Linked DNA regions of Homo sapiens: all the other regions are linked to region 3. Evidence: promoter capture Hi-C in 16 types of primary human blood cells and fetal thymus (Javierre and others, 2016). All regions are on one chromosome and are shown on one strand. The core of a region is centred on a gene start or on the middle of the fragment in contact, and the rest is flanking DNA. Distances in the headings are between cores, read along the strand shown.

Region 1 (3,162 bases), core at 449-2,948, 280 kb after region 3:
GAAATCAGATCATCCTCCTTCCATTCCTACCTCTCAGGAATACCTGTCATGGTCCAAGCTAGAACGTCCTTCATGGGCTCAGGACTGAAGGAAGTTGGTCAAAACATGGGAGCTGGACAGGCTGTATAAGGAATTCATCAGGAACCCAAAAAGCTGACTTTCTAATGCATATATCAGAATATTCATGACGCAGAACATCATGCAATGAGTACATGCTAACTTAGGGAAATAATCAAGATATACTCAATAGAAAAAGGAGGTTATGAGACTTATGATTACATTTATAAAATACATATATATCAATACAGAAAGACTGACAATCACATCAATAGATGAAAAAATGTTTAGAAAGTTATACATCTCAAGAAAGAAACAGGCCAGGTGAGGTGGCTCAGGCCTATGATCCCAGCACTTTGGGAGGCTGAGGTGGGTGGATTATGAGGTCAGGAGATCGAGACCATCCTGGCTAACACGGTGAAACCCCGTCTCTACAAAAATACAAAAAATTAGCCAGGCGTGGTGGCAGGCGCCTGTAGTCCCAGCTACTCAGGAGGCTGAGGCAGGAGAATGGCGTGAACCCGGGAGGCAGAGCTGGCAGTGAGCCGAGATCGCGCTGCTGCACTCCAGCCTGGGTGACAGAGCAAGACTCCATCTCGAAAAAAATAAATAAATAAAATAAAAAATAAAAAATAAAATTATATATCTATATATATTAATAACATTTATCTTTTCATTATGATCATAATGTTTTCTGTTTAGGTAATCCACACAATCATTGTAACCATGGCCATACATTACATGAACTGTATAATTTCTACATATGCCTATGTCTTGCCTAGAAAAAAAAAGGATGAAATTCCCCAAGTTATGCCATGTATATATTAATGGAATAATACTAATGGAATAATATTAATGAAATGATATTAATATATTCATGGCCTAAGTTGAGGAATTTCATCCTTTTTTTTCATTTTTTGAGGGGAGGTTTTATTTATTTTTTTGTTCCCCTTCCATTAATGAGGTTTTGATTCTACTTTTCTTATCTTGACTGATGGATTTATTTTGTATCTGAACCTGTCTTAGACATGGTACTCTCCAGATAACTGAATCCAGATAACTGAATCACCTGATCCTATTAGGCTCACTTTGCAACCAACATTAGTAGAATAAAAACTATAAAGTATAAACCTTACAGAATAAATTCCATTTGCCTCCAAATGCTTGATCATGGTTCAACGGTATTGCTTATAACTGCCTTCCTATGAGTTCCTAAAGCAGGTCCCCTGGATTGCCTACTGGCCTTTGTTGCTGACTGCTGGCTGCCTTATGCTTACCCCAAGGCATATTTGGTCTCCAAGGTAACAACTATGTCTTCCAAACACTGTATTACCCGCTAAGTACAAGTATCACAGGGTCAGGCATTTGGGGCAAATTCTTTACCCAAAACTTCACTTCTAGAAATGTATCCTTAAGAAATAGGTAAAGAAGGGCCAGGCACGGCGGCTCATGCCTGTAATCCCAGCACTTTGAGAAGCCGAGGTGGGTGGATCACGAGGTCAGGAGATCGAGACCATCCTAACATGGTGAAACCCCGTCTCTACTAAAACTACAAAAAAAATTAGCTGGGTGTGGTGGCGGGCACCTGTAGTCCCAGCTACTCAGGAGGCTGAGGCAGGAGAATAGCGTGAACCCAGGAGGCGGAGCTTGCAGTGAGCCAAGATCGCACCACTGCACTCCAGCCTGGGCGACAGAGCGAGACTCCATCTGAAAAAAAAAAAAAAAAAGAAATAGGTAAAGAAGAAAGAAACACACAAGATGAATACACAAGGGTACTCAACCAAAAATAATTTCTGGTAACCAAAAATGAGAAACTACGTAATAGTAAGCAAAAGGTTTAATAAATTATGGCCCACCATATCCTCATTAGTTATGATGGTGTTGGTTCATATTAATTGATGAAGAAAGACATGCATGATCAATTCCTTAGGCAGGCCGGTTTGTAACTAACATAATGTGGGAGGCATATTCTATTGAAATTAAGATAAAAGTTCTGGTGTGAGAGCTTTAGGATGTGAATTTGAGCTTGATAGTTATCCATTTCTCAATACCTCTGTTTCCTCATCAGTAAGACGGGTGAGAACAGTGTCTACCATAGAAGAGTAAGTAAGAAATCCATACAAAATACTGAATGGTATATGATAATTGTTTATAAGTTGTCTTTTTTTTTTTTTTTTTTTTTCAGAGACAGGGTCTTGCTCTGTTGCCTAGGCTGGAGTGTAGTGACACAAACACAGCTCACTGCAGCCTCAACCTCCTGGGCTCAAGTGATCCTCCTACCTCAGCCTCCATCCCCAGTAGCTAGAACCACAGGTGCACGCCACCTTGCCCGACTAATGATTCTTCTTTAAAATTGTTTGTAAAGAAAGGGTCTCACTGTGTTGTCCAGGCTGGTCTCGAACTCCTGAGCTCAAGGAATCCTCCTGCCTTGACCTCCCAAAGTGCTGGGATTACAGGTGCAAGCCACCAGGCTTGGCCACATTTTCATCATTATTATTGAAAATGAAGAATGTTACTGTCCCTTATCCTGTTATGCCAAAGAAACTTAAGGCTACTCTATTTTGCTCACAGTAAAATGTGTCTTTCTCAGACCTGCTTTCTTATAACGTGAACTCAAATTTCACAGGTCAACCTTGAGTCTGCTATTCTTCCTAAATAACAATGTGAGCAAAACAGGTTCTCAGAAACATATAGAGGAAAATACCCCTTCCTCCCAGAAGTTACATAGAGATTCAGCATCATTAAGCTGCATCAGAAAATACAACCTGATTAGGTATAAAGCTGAGAACTTAACCAAAGGCTCAGTCTTCTGTACAAATTGGTGGTTTACTTAAACATTTACAACAAGAACCTTCTTATTCTACCTCCTGGTATTTACACCTGTCCTTGGAAATATTATCTGTAAAATGTATTTTTTGTAAGATGGCTGTATATTGGAGATTATTGCCATTGTCTGTAGAGGTAACCTTTAAAATAATCTAATTCTAAAACTCTTTTTTGCCTGGTAATTCATTTTTAAATGACATTTCTATAATCCCAGAAGTTGTAAATATTTGAAGGTTTTCAAATAAGGGAATCACTAGTACTTCCCTCTTCTCCCTAAAT
Region 2 (3,440 bases), core at 253-2,752, 260 kb after region 3:
TCAAGCAATGCATCAGAAGGATACTATGACTAACCTGGAATATCCAGGAATGGGAAAAAGTCAGTGAATCTATCAGAATAAATTATCACATGAACAAATTAAATACTATAGAAGTGCAGAAAAAGATAGTGAAACGGCATTTAATAAAACTCAGGAGGCACCACTACTTAGCTACAACAAAGATTTTCACTCATAACTGAGACCATGATGCTGCCATTCCATCATAGCTAACAACCAGACATGGTGACTGAAATTCTCTTTTGGTTATAGCAGCAGTTCCCAATGCAATTTCACCCACCTACAAAGATAATAGGTCATGGGAATAAGTATTTCAACAGTGAAGTTTGCCATACACCAGTTTAAACAAAGTTCAACCATTTTCTTCACTAGAATACTCCTTAGTCTTTTTTTATTTTTATTTTTTTGAGACGGAGTCTCGCTCTGTCGCCCAGGCTGGAGTGCAGTGGCGCAATCTCGGCTCACTGCAAGCTCTGCCTCCCGGGTTCACGCCATTCTCCTGCCTCAGCCTCCCCGAGTAGCTGGGACCACAGGCGCCCGCCACCACGCCCGGCTAATTTTTTCTATTTTTAGTAGAGACGGGGTTTCACCGTGTTAGCCAGGATGGTCTTGATCTCCTGACCTCGTGATCCGCCCGCCTCGGCTTCCCAAAGTTCTGGGATTACAGGCATGAGCCACCGCGCCCGGCCGTCTTTTTTTTTTTTTCACTTCTCTTTAGTCTTTTGATAAGCTGGTGAGGTGCTTTTGCTTGTTCCTTAGGAGGGGATTTAGTAGATGCTACTTTATAAGCTTCTTTAACTGTAAAATCCTCCTTCATTGTCAAGTACTAGTAAGCACTGGTGATTCCTTGAGATATAATTTCAGAAATGTTGGGATAAGGCACCATGTCTACATTTCTTGGTTAACAGGCAAATGTGGCACCCAGAGGGAGTGGCATAATAGCCAGTTACCAATAATATATCCTGTTAAAACTCCCAAAGTACTCTGCTTTGTGTTACAGTTGATTATTAAGAGTGCAACTGTTGGCTTTTTATGCCTTTGAAAAAGTGCAATCATGTAGAATGATGATCACTAGATGGTGAATGACTGACTGAACAGTGATATTACGAATCCCCTATGTGCACAAAATAGAGAGGTCAGGTGTAGACCTATGACAAGGAACCACAGACATTTAGTTATCAATGCATTAGTTCTGATGGAACTGACATTATTTTCAAAAAGAAATAATTTTTAAAAGGGTCGATTTCTAACTGTGTGAGTATATAAACACACACTCTATTTCTTCATAACTAACCTGCCTTGATGCTAGCACTAAATCATGACAGGCACCTGGTTGAAAGTGGTTGCAAGAAGCCATCAATTTTAAGATGCATTGTGATTTCCAAATAGTAAAATATAGCCAGGCGCAGTGTCTCACACCTGTAATCCCAACACTTTGGGAGGCTGAGGCAGGTGCAGGAGTTCAAGATCAGCCTGGACCAACATGGCAAAACCCCATCTCTACTAAAAATACAAGAATTAGCCAGTATGGTGGTGCACACCTGTGTATCCAGCTACTTGGGAGGCTGAGGCACGAGAATCACTTGAACCCGAGAGGTGCAGGTTGCAGTGAGCCGAAATCACACCACTGCACTCCAGCCTTGGTGACAGAAAGAGAGATCCTGTCCCAAAAAAAAAAAAAAGTAAAATACATACCATATGATCACACATTTCCAAAGATCATTGATCAAGGCTGACCAATCCTATTAGGTATATAATGGATCTTTATAACAGACAACTCCAGTAGTTACCATAAGTGATCAAACTTGGCACTGGTGATACTGGGGGAAATGGATACTATCTGCTTCTGAGGTATTGCAAGATGAAGTACACATCACCATCTATGAAGTGTTCTGGTAAAAAATGTTTAAGCCTCTATTTCCAACTTCATGTTACGAGAAATGTGAAGGAGAGGCCCATATCAAATTTCACCATGAGGAATGAAACTAATGTGTGACATTCTATAAAACAGCTTTCCTAAACTCTTCAAAAGTCTGGATTTTTTCAAGTCTCATTTTTTTAGCTCAGCTTAAGGGATAAACTCTGAATTAAAATCCCCTCAAATTCTTTATACTGTACTAGATCTTATCCAGAATGAACTATCTGAAATTCAAATGGATGAGTGGTTATGGGAAGCTTTTCTGAATTCATTCCTCAAAACGGTTGTGCCTCTCCTAAGAATTCACCAGTAGTAATACTAATAATAAAGACAATATGAACAATAGCTAATATGTATTAAGCATAGGCTACATACCAGATACTCTTCCAAGGATATGATGCATACTAAATCCATCTAATCTCTGTAACAGCATTATTAGTTACCATCAGCATTTGAAACATCATGTCCAGAAGAGATAAGCATTTTGCTCACCATCCTACAGGTAGTATGGAGGTGAAATGGTGATGACAGTATGGTATTTGCCATGGATAAGGGTTTTCCTACATTTGTTACATTAACAGAGTTACTCTCTAGGATGAACTTACTGAAGTTTAACAAAGACTGAATAGTGTTGGAAGGCTTCTGCACATTTAACATATCTGGTATAAATTATCTTATGCTGTTACAGGCATTAGAAAATTTTGATTCCCTCATTTGCCAAATCTTGCTATAGTATGAATATTCTGCTATTCTAATCAGAGAGGTGCAAGTGAAGAATTTCTTATTTAAATTGTCACTTGTCTCATGTCTTGAAAAGTGTGAGTCTTGTCTCAAATTATTTCTGGGAAAGAACAAACTTTGTTTTCAATTCTCAATCATTTATGGACTGATAATTTTGTAAAACAGAATGTTATGGAAATGTCAAATTGCTATAAAAGTTCCAAATATTTACTCACTTTCCACGTTTATCTCACAATTGACAGATGACAATTTTATGACTGCACCAGTCTCTGGATAATAATTTGGGTAGCATTTGTCTAAAGGCCTTCCTATAATTCTAATTCAAATGATTTCTCATTTGGATGAATTCTCTGATGTACTCTAAGATATTTACTGTGTCTATAAGCCTTCCCAAATTCCTTATGTGCATAGGATTACACAGCAGTATGAATTCTCTGATGTGCAGCAAGAACTGAATTAAGTTTAGGTCCTTCCCACATTCCTCCTATTTAAACTCTTTTTAACAAATACCAATTATTTGATGTTAATCAGACCTTATGTCATGAATGAAGATCTTCACACATTCCTTACATTTAAATGATTTTACATCAGTATAAATTGATATCCAATAAGACTGTACAGAAGTCTAAAGGCCTTTTCATATTAATTATATTCAAAATATTTCTCACTAGTATGAATTGCTGGATAGCAAGATAATTGCCCATAAACAGAAATGAATGGCTTTTGCACAACCCTTACATTCACAAGGTTTCTCAAGAGTAAG
Region 3 (3,365 bases), core at 421-2,920:
GTTCACCTTTACAGTAGAATGTGCACTAATAAATGTATTTCTCCTTACAAAATTTTATTTAACTAAAAAATTAGGGAGTGTATATTGAGAGCAACTTGAATCTGTGTTCCTGGGGTAAAAAAAAAAATTCAAAATAATTTTACAATGCGGAAATCTGACAAACATGACTTTAGCCAAGTGAACAAAGTTGAGATCACCAATGAAGTGACAAACTGACATATGGCCCCTGTTATGTTGCAATAAGAAATTTACCACTTCAGGCTGGGCACGGTGGCTCATGCCTGTAATCCCACACTTTGGGAGGCCAAGGCGGTTGAATCACCTGAGGTCAGGAGTCTGAGACCAGCCTGGCCAACATGGTGAAATCCCTTCTCTACTAAAAATACAAAAATTAGCCGGATGTGGTGGCAGGCACCTGTAATCCCAGCTACTTGGGAGGCTGAGGCAGGAGAATAGCTTGAACCCAGGAGGTGGATGTTGCAATGAGCTGAGATCGTGCCATGCACTACAGCCTGGGCGACAAGAGCGAAACTCCGTCTCAAGAAAAAAAAAGAGAGAGAGAGATTTACCACTTCTGTGGTATTCCAGCAAAAAATGCATATTTTGAAGTTAAACGTGAAATACATCAGAAAAACTCCAAATGAACATCTTTGACCAAAATAACTTCATCTATACTCTTCAAAAATAACAAGGATAAAATACCAAGAAAAAACGATGAAAGCTATGCTATCTTTCAAGATTAAAGACTAGAAAAACATGACAACTGAAAGCAACACCCATGCCCGAAGACACATCCTATACACTCTCGGTTGGGGTGAGCATCTCTGTCAAAGAAAAAAGCCAAGGATCACTCACGTAGAGCTTTGCCCTCAGAAGCCAAGAAGTCCCTCCCTGCAGCTCTTTTGGAAAGGTCGGGCTGGGTAAGGAGAAGGCTGTGAAACACTCTGACCGTGGTCGCCGTGCCCCATAAAAGTTAAATGCTCCTCTCCCCTCCTGGAAGTGGATGCAACCCTCGCCTTCCTAAAAGAGAGGTCAGAAGGCGTCCGGGATCACCCAGCGTCTTGCAGGAATCAGGGAGAAGGGCCGGTGCCCCTGCAGCTGGAGTTTCACCCCACCCGGGGACCTGACAGGCTTCGTGGGAAATTAACAAGAGACCACCAGTCACCAAGTGACAGGGGCTGCTTTAAGGCTCTCATTTGTGTTACCGCTTTCAGTTCCCAAAACGATTCTATTAGGATGGTCCTAAACTCCCCATCTTAAAGAACTGTAACGGGAGACCCAAGGAGATTAAGTAACATCCCAGCGTTTTATCGCGAGGAAGTGGCCACGCGCGTGGGGTGCAGGGAGGCCGAGTGGGCGAGCTCAGAGCCCCGGAGACCCTAAAACCAGGCGAGACGCGACCCGACCAAGTCCCAAACACCCCGGGGACGCGAGGAGAGCCCCAAGCCCAAGAAGGCTCCACTGACGAGAACGAAAACAGCGGCCCCGCTCCGCCAAACCTCTGCTCTCCGACGAGGTTTCTTTTCCCCTAATTCGATCACCAGTTCGTTAAGGATCCAATGCGTAGGTCCAGGAAATTCAGAAGGGTCTCGCGGAACTGACCCAAACTACCAGGGACAAAACTGCAGCAACCTCACAGTAACGGAGCGGAAGTGGCCCGCTACTCCACTGAGTGTCTGGACTCCACTTCCCAGAATTCCTGAGACAAACTGACCGCGACGACCCCGAGCGTCTGGACTACACTTCCCAGAATTCCCTGGGATCCACCTGCCGGAGTCAAATTGACCGAGACTCCACTGAGCGTCTGGACTACATTTCCCAGAAATCCCCTGATTCGCCTGCCGGAGCCAAGCTGACCGCTACTCCACTGAGCGTCTGGACTACCATTCCCAGAATTGCTTGTATCCTCCTTCTGGAGCCAGTGTGTACGACTCCACAGAGCATTTGGATTACACTCCTCCGAATGCTGAAGGAAAAACGCTCAAAATCTCATTCTTCAGGGGGAAGCGTTGCCACTCCGAGGTGCCCACTGGGAACGAATCCCAAAGCCACGAGCGCCTGCCTAGTGGGGAATGTGAACTGTTATCCTGAGAGTCGTCCTTCTCTCTCCCTGGTCCAGGACAGAAAATACTGAATAGACAGGAATTTCTGAAGTCTAAACGCCTCCAATGATAACAGGAGTGTTATTGGAAAGGGAACAAGCGAGAAGACACAGTCTTCGAGGAGTTAAGTTTTGCTAATCTAATGGTAAGAAATGGTTTCTAAATGTAGTTTTAATTTGTATTTGTTCTTTTGTAAATAAAGTGGAACATCCGTGCATATTTTCCGTTGCCACTATTATAGTCTTTGTGAATTGGTCAAATAGTTTGCCCACATTTCTATTGAGTGTTTAGTTTTTTCCCCTCCGTTAAGTATTATTTACATACTCATATTAACATTGTATCAAATATTGCTCAACCAAAAAGCTTTTTTCCTTTGACTTGTTTTTCGCTATGCAAAACGTTTTTAACGTGGTCGTTTTATTATTTAAAAAATATTTTTGAGGTGTAATTCACAAAACAAAATTATTTTAAGGCACATAATTCAATGGCAATGGCATCTAGTACGAATACAGTGTTGTTAATATATACGAGTTAAGAAGCCATCACTTAGGCAGATAGGGTATGGGAGCCCTCGGTAAGGCTTTTCTTTTTAATGAAAAGCAGCCCCAAATTATTTCCCTTCCTAAGGAAGAGCAGCCTGTAAAATCCAGCTGCCGCAGACATAGATACCAGCAGTTGTGCCAATCATGTTAAAGATGGCGGCTCCATCTTCCCTTCTCTTTGTCAGCCACGTGCACAGTAAGAAGCTGGCAAGATGGGCCAATCAACTGGGAAGCCTATTTGCATAAGAAGATTAGGGTGGGGCGACCAGCCTTCCCCACGCACTATGTAAACGTCATAACTGATCGAACCAATCTATGACCCCTATGTAAATCAGACACTGCCTCCTCAAACTGGTCTGTAAAACTCAGCACATTCACTGCCAGCCGACCCTTTTCCGCTCGGAGACCCCTTCCTCTATGGAGGAACCCGTTTCTCTTTCTCTTCTTCCTATTAAACCTCCGCTCCTAAACTGAGGAGTTTTTGTGTGTCCGTGTCCTAAATTTTTCTGGCGCTTAACGACGAACCCCGGGTTTAAACCTCAGACAAAGTAGCTGCTTCATTGTGAAACCACCACCTCTTGAATTACAAAACATTTTTATCACCCAAAGAAAACCCCATGCCCACTAAGCAATCACTACTGTTGTCCATAATCCCATTCCTGGGGAAACATGAATCTTTCTCTCTTTTCTATTACCTATTTTGGACAAATCATAAAAATGA

What was found. The method cuts DNA at HindIII sites, captures the fragments that hold promoters and counts their contacts. A CHiCAGO score of 5 or more calls a contact.
Region 1: a fragment that was not itself captured here is called in contact with the fragment with the promoter of ZNF225 in region 3 in 14 of 17 cell types (monocytes, activated CD4 T cells, non-activated CD4 T cells and 11 more); the score reaches 10.2 in monocytes.
Region 2: a fragment that was not itself captured here is called in contact with the fragment with the promoter of ZNF225 in region 3 in 16 of 17 cell types (M2 macrophages, naive CD8 T cells, non-activated CD4 T cells and 13 more); the score reaches 10.8 in M2 macrophages.

What each region holds. Positions count from the first base shown.
Region 1 is chr19:43,832,107-43,835,268 of GRCh38, reverse strand. ZNF283 (zinc finger protein 283) reads right to left here. Exons shown (of 7, transcript NM_181845.2): 4 at 1,643-1,764. The coding sequence starts at 1,764. Among named protein-coding and RNA genes, the nearest start is that of ZNF283, 6.4 kb to the right of the region's middle. The HindIII fragment of the contact is 7,984 bases long and covers 1-3,162 here.
Region 2 is chr19:43,848,702-43,852,141 of GRCh38, reverse strand. ZNF283 (zinc finger protein 283) reads right to left here. Exons shown (of 7, transcript NM_181845.2): 7 at 125-3,440. Among named protein-coding and RNA genes, the nearest start is that of ZNF283, 23 kb to the right of the region's middle. The HindIII fragment of the contact is 1,386 bases long and covers 810-2,195 here.
Region 3 is chr19:44,111,704-44,115,068 of GRCh38, reverse strand. It overlaps ZNF225 (zinc finger protein 225), which reads right to left and starts at 1,670. Exons shown (of 5, transcript NM_013362.4): 1 at 1,500-1,670. It overlaps ZNF225-AS1 (ZNF225 and ZNF224 antisense RNA 1), which reads left to right and starts at 1,886. Exons shown (of 2, transcript NR_033341.1): 1 at 1,886-2,247. RefSeq lists an enhancer at 1,217-1,916 and a silencer at 1,609-1,959. The HindIII fragment of the contact is 4,811 bases long and covers 1-2,467 here.